Regions from separate parts of the Homo sapiens genome. Here regions 1 and 3 are each linked to region 2. The links are contacts of gene promoters, found by promoter capture Hi-C in blood cells and fetal thymus (Javierre and others, 2016). All regions are on one chromosome and are shown on one strand. Each heading gives the region's core, a stretch centred on a gene start or on the middle of the fragment in contact. The rest is flanking DNA. Distances are from core to core; before and after follow the strand shown.

Region 1 (2,700 bases), core at 70-2,569, 930 kb before region 2:
AATAAGGGCTCAATATATTTTCCCTTCAATTTACTTTAAAAATCATTACCATTGCCTAAATGAAATATTACTGACATGGATTTTAAAAACTGCACATGTAACTAATGTCTAAAATTGGGTCACGTGAAACCTATAACCTTGAAACTGAGAATTTCCTTTTAGACTTCATGACAATATACCAAACACTTAATGCACCAGGGGCTGAGGGGAACAGAGAACCTAATTAATCACGGTGACCTGATAAATGAGGTAACACCCCTAAAGCAAGTGGCTCTCCTTTAACCTCAGTTCCATTTCCCTACCCCCCCACACCATGTCCCTTCAGATCATTTGATCTGAAGAGTTGAGGTGGGTACTTATTCAAAATGAATAATCAAACTTGCCTCCCAATTCCCAAAATCTGCAAGGTCCCTTAGACCTCTAGAAGTGCAATTTTGCTGACAGGAGAATGAAGGAAATTACTCTCATCCAAGGCGATTACCTCCACGAATTCTTAAAGGGTTATGTTACATAGTAGAATCCAGGTATTAATATAAAAACTGTAACTTCAAAATACTATAATGTTTCAATCAACAAAAGTGGGCAGAAAAAAAATTAAAAATTTTAAAACCCACCACTTCAGAAGCATTATGCTTTAGTACTCGGATAGTCTCAACATGGGAAGAAAACATCACTTTGTCAGTGAGTAACTTCTGATAAGTATGTGGAAATGTAAGCCACTCCGCTCGAAAAATGCACGCAGGGGGAATGACACGCGCGGTGCGGTTACCGTTGTGTCCCGATATCTGAGGCCGTTAAACGACGAGAAGAGCGGCAGTGTCTGAAGCACGCCTTCCTACCTCTCCTCCGCCCGGCCCCGCTTCCGGGACTCCAGTTCACCCGCAGCACCCTGACTGCAGGTGCCAAGTCACAACTGCAAAGAAACTTCCTTTTCTCGAGCGGGGGTGGGACTTGGCCGGGTCCCGAGGCCCCTGGCCGGCGGGCTCGGACGTTAGGAGCAGAACCAGCTCCAGGTCCCGGTCTGTCCGGGCGTCGCTGCCCTCTGAAGCTCAGGCCGGACGCCCCAGTCCCTGGCCGAACAAGGTGCCGCGGCCCACCCACCCCGGTACCCGCCGTCCGACCCCGTTGCCCTGCACCTGAGGATGTTGTCAGCATAGGTGAGCAGCAGCTTGGAGGCCTCCAAAAAGGTCTCCGGGGTGTTCTGGCAGAGCTCAGCCACGGCCGGGGACGCCGAGCCTGAGGAGCTGCCCAATGCCGCCGCCGCCATGCTTGAGCGCCAGCGGGCGCCGCCGCCGCCCCTCGCTCTCCGCGTCCCACACTGAGCAGGCGCCTCAGCGCGCAGCAGCTACCGCAGCCACCGGCAGGGGCGGGGTCCTCGGCCGGCAGGGGCGGGGTCCTCGGCCGGCAGGGGCGGGGTCCTCGGCCGGCAGGGGCGGGGTCCTCGGCCGGCAGGGGCGGGGTCTTCGGCCGGCAGGGGCGGGGTCGGGGGCCTGGGGCGGGGTCGGGGACCGGGGCCAGGAGCGGGGGAGCTCGGCTGGGAGCTACGGCTGCCCCTTCGCGGGGGGCAAGGGGCTGTTCGGAAGAAGGTGGGGGGCCTCGGCCGGCAGGGGCGAGGTGCTTCGACCCAGAGTTGGGGCCTGGTCGTACAGGTTGGGAAGGGGTTCCGCAGGGAGAGGCGGGGCCTGGGCTCCGGGGCTGAGGGGTGTGGGCCTGGAGGAGGGGGATGTCGAGTCCTTTAGGACGGAGGAGCTCGGCTGGAGGGGAGGCCGGCTTTGGTCTAGAGGTATCGGGCGAATGGTGCTGGCACGTGCCTCTCAGAAACCCGGATCCCTTTGCGCTCCGGGGCCAGCCTAATTGATCCAGCTATTAAGGTGGAGAAACCGCATGTACCTCCCTCCTTTCCCCACAAATAAAACCACCTTAGAGCCTTCTCTTCGCAGATTGTCAGGACGTTCTACATAGATGTGGATGAAAGACTACAGAAGGAAGGAGCAACAAACGTCAAAAACAAAACCATGGCTATAAACTCTGCTGGGTTTGTTATATGGATTCTTTTCAGAATTTGGCTAATGACTGAAAATCTAAGTTCCAGCTCAACTAGTATATGATTCCTCTGTAAGGAAGTGTATTTTTAAACCATAGGTTGCGACATAATAATGGGTTGTGGATTCGGTTTACCGCGTGGTGACCAGCGTAAAACACATGCATAATAATTACGCAATATTATAGAATGTCGGGGGCGGGAAGGGAATAAAAATTTGCATCCCACACAGTAAGGGTAAGTAATATTTTGTGACTTGTTTTTTAGGTAGATCATGTGATCAAGGTCTTTTATTCCTCTTAGAAGATGCATCCCTTACTACTTTAATCCAGTCTCTTCCCCACCATGTTCTTGAAAGTGTACTTTACCAGTGGCTTCCTTCTTTGCAGAAATTCCTTTTCAACCTCACGAAGTATTTTTCTTGACTTTATTTCTTAAGATAAGTGATTTGCCTGAATAACCTCTTTTAAATTTCTTGATGTTTCATCTGTTTACTTTTAAGAATTGAAATTTTCTTCCAGAATCTCCGAACAAGACCCTAAGCTATGACATCCAGTTCAATGACTATTCGTCTCCCAAATATACGTACGCTTTTAATAAATATGTAAATCTTTGGACCACCTTCCAAGTATGGTGTGTTCAACAGATAGTAGTATGTT
Region 2 (2,700 bases), core at 156-2,655:
ACAAGAGAAGAAAGTGACAGCTGCTCTATTTACATAGGAAAAAACTTCAAGTAAGAGAGCTTCATTGAGTTGCCAGGTAGAAAGTATTAGAACTTCTTAAATTTGAATCAGATCTTTCTGTCTCCAAAGAAAGGTCTTCACATTATGTTCCTACTGAGTTGGTTTATAGTTATAATTTTCTGTTAAAAAAAGCACCTAGGTTAAGTACACAGTTCTGAGTTTTAAAATATATATACTCCTGGCATCTGTCATACAATCAAGATATTGTGTCCTTGTCATTGGCCAGAGATAGATAGGAGAAAGCACATTTGGTTCTTAAGAGTAGGGAATTGTGTGGAAGTTATTGGTTTTAAGGTACCATTACAGATAATCTTTAAAACTTGGGTGGGATCTCATAAGGTGATGATGTAGACAAGGAAGATAGAAGAAGCAGAGGGATACCATATAGGGAGGTGTTTGGGATGAAGGAGTCCATGCAAAGAAGTGAGAAACAAGGCTGGAACTATATAGTAGAGATCTCAGTTCCAGACTAAGGAATAATAGAACTGATGGCATTTATGGAACACTTACTATGCACCAAGTACTTTCTTTGGAGTATCTTAATGAGTCCTTACAAACTCCCCTATGAGACAGTCTTTTGTGAATGAGAATCAGAGACACAGGAGTTAAGTAATTAATACAGAGTTTGTAAGCATAGCAGGCATTGAAACCCAGTCTGTCAACTCCAGAACCTATGAACATTTTATCCACTGTGCTGCCTTATGGTCATCAACTTTACTACCTAAAGTTGCTGATTCCTCAGACCTAGAGTTTTGCAGCCTCCTACATGATGGTTTTATTTTTCAAATAGCACAAAAATAGCCCTTTGTGAGATTTATGTAGGTAAGAGGGAACCTCTGCCCTTTTGAGACACTTAGCCTTCTCCAACCCAAGTTAGGGTATCTTTGGGCCTAATATTTCTGCTCTCGGAAAGCCCTAGAGGTCCTAGGCAGCAATAGTCTCTTTAAATGTTTATTTATTGCAAGGGACAATCAGGGTCAGCTAATCCAGGACCTGTGGCGAGGCATGCAGAGCACTGTGGCCAGGCTCTGCTCATGGTACACACACCCCAGGGCCATGGGCTTTTCACCCCAACCCCACCAAACTTGCTAAAAGTGTTAGATCTAGTCTAGAAGCCTGAGGTAACTCCTAGATGTAAAATTCAGGATATAGGCCCAAGAATTCCTGCATCCCAGCAAGAAGGAAGCCAGACTGTCTGCTTTTACGAACTGAATTGAGAATTCACCTTTCCAGTGAGACTGAAGCTTTGCTGAAGATTTATCGCCCCCTGGAGGACAATAGTATAATATATCTCTTCAGGTACTCTAGAAAAGATGCCCAACTGAACTGAAATACACATTTTTTTCCTAAAGAATAGGAAAATCAAGCCTTTGCTAAGACAACCCTTTAAAAAGGTAAATTAATTGTATTTATTTGAGTGTATGAATGAGTCACGTTCATTTTAGAAAAGCTTTCACAAATAAGATAATCCATTCCAGGCTGCTTCTTCCAAAATAATCTTTGTCTTCACTAATGGGAGCTTATTTTCCCAATGGTCAATTGTATTATTCAAGTAAAAGTACTTGTAAAGCAAAAATCTCTGAAAAGTTTTGTAAGCATAGTTATATCCTTGTTCAGATGCAGGAAAGTTAAATTTCCACATATTCACTTTGAAATTCTCCATATACATAGAGCTGAGAGGTGTGTCATAGGTTAATAATTCTCCTGCCTGAATTCTATGTGTAGATTTTTAGTTAACAGCACCTTAAGCGCTTTTTTTTTTTTTTTTTTAAAAAGAGCCTTTAAGTTCGGTTGCCATGAATCATGTATAAGCCATTGGAGGAGAAAATTAATTCTTTTGTTTGTTTCTTTATTTTAAAATAAATACCAGGCTATGGCACCCGTTTGTGATCAGAATTGAGAAGAAGCACTCTTCCTGCCAGCTTGTGGGAATGCTGTGTCCCCCAAGGCCAACAGTATATGCTGCCAATGAGTGAAAAGAACTAAGACTCAAGTCTGCACAGAAAAAGGCCCAACATGCATGCTTCAGTTTTGATCCCAGCTTGGCCCTTAATTTTCCAAACCCTTGCAGATGGAGAGCTACCTATTTTGGGACTGTAAGGTTTTTGAAATTAACTGTCAACTCATTATCCAAGGCACATACTATCTTACCTCTATCTTACCTTCTAAATATTTTAAATAACGCTTTTCTCAGCCTTCTCTTTTGGCATCTCTTTCTTAACCCCAACCTTTTAAATTCAGAAATACCTAGGAATTTTACTCTAATTTTTGACAATGTGCTTATCTTTGAAGCAAGGAAAATCGGAAAACATGCCAACCCAACTGGAACATTTTTAACAAAGTAATGAAAAGTTATGTAATGGAAGATTTAGCTTTCAAGAACACTTTGGCAAATTGTAATGCAATGATATACAAAATCTGCCAGGTACGCATTGTTCTTTTTTACGTCCTTCTCTGATTCTTCACAATAACTCTTGTCCTGACATCAACAAACATAAGGCAGTCTCAGATGTGGGTAGGTTTTTCTTATTGGCTTAATACTTTCAATTCATATAGTAAGTTCTCTCATCTATCTGGCAGAGGCAGGAAGTGGAAAATTCTGCTTAATTAAATGTTTTTGTTACTACAGCTAGGTGAATT
Region 3 (2,700 bases), core at 21-2,520, 840 kb before region 2:
TTTGAGTTAACGAAGGTAAAAGCTAGGTCATTTGAGAACAATATGACTTTTCTGAAAGCTAAATCATAGAGAAACTGCCAGATATAAAAACAGATAAACTATACATTTAAAAACTCATTTTAATAAAAACATATTATGATAAAAAGATAATTCCAGTCTGTTTGATTCTAGAGTCTATTCTCTTAATTATATTGTTAAGCAACAAAATGGGGAAGGAAGCAAACTTAAGTTGAACTTTCTGAGCCTGAGTTTCATTTTCTATGAAATAAGGATAGTAATATCTCATTGAATTGCTGTGGGGACTAAATTAGATAATGTATGTAAAATGCAAAAGACAATCTATAAATGTTTACTTCTCTCCTGCCGTCCATCTAGCTCAAACTTGCACTAGAGGTGATTAGGTATTTAGAGTTCAAATAACTGAGTTGTGATGTCAGCAAAATCAAAATTAAGCAGACTGAATTTCCAGATGTGTCCAAATGTCAATGAAACCAATATTTAAGCAGAGATCTACTGGACTGCGCTGTAACTCCATAAGCCTTGAATAATTGAGGATTGACTGTAAACTGAGGATCTGTGTTCTGCATTATGACCTTGCATTAACAGAGACTAAACAATTGAAGGTTTGGAGGTAAGTGAAATAGCCTGGTGCCTGTAATATTTCAGGAGGAAATGCAACAATATAACAAGCAACACAAGTACTGATATTAATTGAGAAAGGTCTCATTTATCTCTCTGGAAAATTTCTCCCTTCAAATGCCACTTATCACGAGAGTGTGGATTCTCTGATGTATTTTAGTGATCACTCAGTTATCTTCAGTACTTGCTCTCCACCCTGGTCTTATAATACAGACTTTTCTGCGTTTTCAGTTGTTCCAGGCTCTAGTCACATCTCAGTTATGTGCAATAATAGTCATTGTGGAGTTGCTGCAAATCAAAATTTCCCAGGTAATACCAAGTCTCATTTAACTTCCAGAGCCATCCATCACCAAACATTTTATTGGAGAACCAAAAAGGGTGGAGTAGGGGAGCTGAGTGAATTTCTGAGTCTGCTGGAGTTGATAACTGTAAGTGTCATGGCCCCAGTATTACTAGCCATAGATAGAGATAATTTAAAAAATCATCCCTGTAACCCTAGGTACTGATTATCTATTGCTACATAGCAAGCCGCCTTGAAACACATGGCTTAAAATAACAATTTATTTTTATATCTCACAGTTCTGTGGCTTAACTGGTCTCAGCTTGGCATCTCTCTTGTAGTTGAAGTCAAATAGAGGCTAGGGCTACATTCGTCTAAAGGTTCAGTTGAGTTGGAATGTGGCATGGCTGGCAGTTGATGATGACTGTTTCCTAGGAGTTCTGCTGGAGCTACATGCCTGAACACCAACCAATAACCTTTTCATGTGGCTGAGACCTTTCATATGGCCACAGTCCTCAGAGACAGCATCCCAAGAGTGATCCTTTTAAGAGGCTCAGGTAGAAATTGCAAGGTGTTTTTACAGTCTTTTCAGAGGTTGGAGTGTCACTTCTGTCATATTCTGCTGGTTCAACAAGCCAGTAAAGCCAAGCCCAGAGTAAGGTAATAAGACTCCACTTCTTGATGAGGAAATGTCAAAGTCATATTGCGGAACAGCGTATTAGATAGGAGATACTATGGTGATCATCTTTGGAAGGTGCAATCTGCCACATCCAGTTCTTCTGTTCCAGATGCCAACAGAGCTCACCTGTATCCAGAACACTCCTGGGCTCTGGCTGGTTTAAATACTTTCTGCATTTACTGGTCAACTCAGAATAATTTATAATTAGTAAGATGTATAGAAGAAATCAGAAAGTATCAATTTTCATAACATATCATGATTCTTTCACAAATCAGACATTCTTGCATTCTTATTCTTGTTGCCAGTGTTTTGCTCCATATGACATTCACAATTCTGTATTCATGTGTACTTTGGCCACTGAAATCCTGTTGTCCTCTTTACCTCTGCGTTGACCTTTTTGTGTTTCAGATGCTTGACTTGCTCTTGATCCCTGGTACCCAAGACTTTCATCACCTCTGCTTTCAAAGTTTGGCCTCCAGGCCTTTGAACTACCTCTAATAACTGTTTTTTTTTTTTTTTTTTTTTTTGAGAGGAGTCTCGCTCTGTCTCCCAGGCTGGAGTGCAGTGGTGCAATCTTGGCTCACTGCAAACTCTGCTCCCGGGTTCACGTCATTCTCCCACCTCAGCCTCCTGAGTAGCTGGGACTACGGGTGCCCGCCACCACGCCTGGCTAATTTTTTGTATTTTTAGTAGAGACGGAGTTTCACCATTCACAGGATGGTCTCGATCTCCTGACCTCATGATGTGCCCGCCTCGGCCTCCCAAAGTGCTGGGATTACAGGCATGAGCCACCGCGCCCGGCAATAACTGTTAGCTTAGCTTCCGTAGCTGCTGCCTTTACCACTTGACGTACAGATAATTGATGCGAATGCAGAGGAAACCTGAATGTTTGGCTTTCCTATCTTGACCCCACTTCTACCCAGTCCTTTTTAGGTTTTAATTTTATTAACTTGCTCCCATTGGTGTCTCCTTCCCATCAGGATGGAGGTATATTTATGCCTAAAATCTGAATTTTTCCCCTTCACGGTGAAAAACAAAGATTCCCTGCCACATGCCTTTCGTATAAGAGCCCTAAGACTTAGTGTTTTCAGTCTTCAACATC

What was found. The method cuts DNA at HindIII sites, captures the fragments that hold promoters and counts their contacts. A CHiCAGO score of 5 or more calls a contact.
Region 1: a contact is called between the fragment with the promoter of NGLY1 here and a fragment that was not itself captured in region 2, in 1 of 17 cell types (fetal thymus). The highest score is 6.0, in fetal thymus.
Region 3: a contact is called between the fragment with the promoter of LINC00692 here and a fragment that was not itself captured in region 2, in 2 of 17 cell types (megakaryocytes and fetal thymus). The highest score is 8.6, in megakaryocytes.

What each region holds. Positions count from the first base shown.
Region 1 is chr3:25,782,124-25,784,823 of GRCh38, forward strand. NGLY1 (N-glycanase 1) reads right to left here and starts at 1,320. Exons shown (of 12, transcript NM_018297.4): 1 at 1,137-1,320. The coding sequence starts at 1,267. RefSeq lists enhancers at 670-749, 910-959 and a silencer at 1,270-1,509. The HindIII fragment of the contact is 11,918 bases long and covers 1-2,700 here.
Region 2 is chr3:26,711,295-26,713,994 of GRCh38, forward strand. No RefSeq gene overlaps it. Among named protein-coding and RNA genes, the nearest start is that of LRRC3B, 90 kb to the left of the region's middle. The HindIII fragment of the contact is 206 bases long and covers 1,303-1,508 here.
Region 3 is chr3:25,872,425-25,875,124 of GRCh38, forward strand. LINC00692 (long intergenic non-protein coding RNA 692) reads right to left here and starts at 1,271. Exons shown (of 8, transcript NR_034055.1): 1 at 1,217-1,271; 2 at 1-58. It overlaps LOC124909357 (a long non-coding RNA gene), which reads left to right and starts at 1,354. Exons shown (of 2, transcript XR_007095849.1): 1 at 1,354-1,579. The HindIII fragment of the contact is 8,581 bases long and covers 1-2,700 here.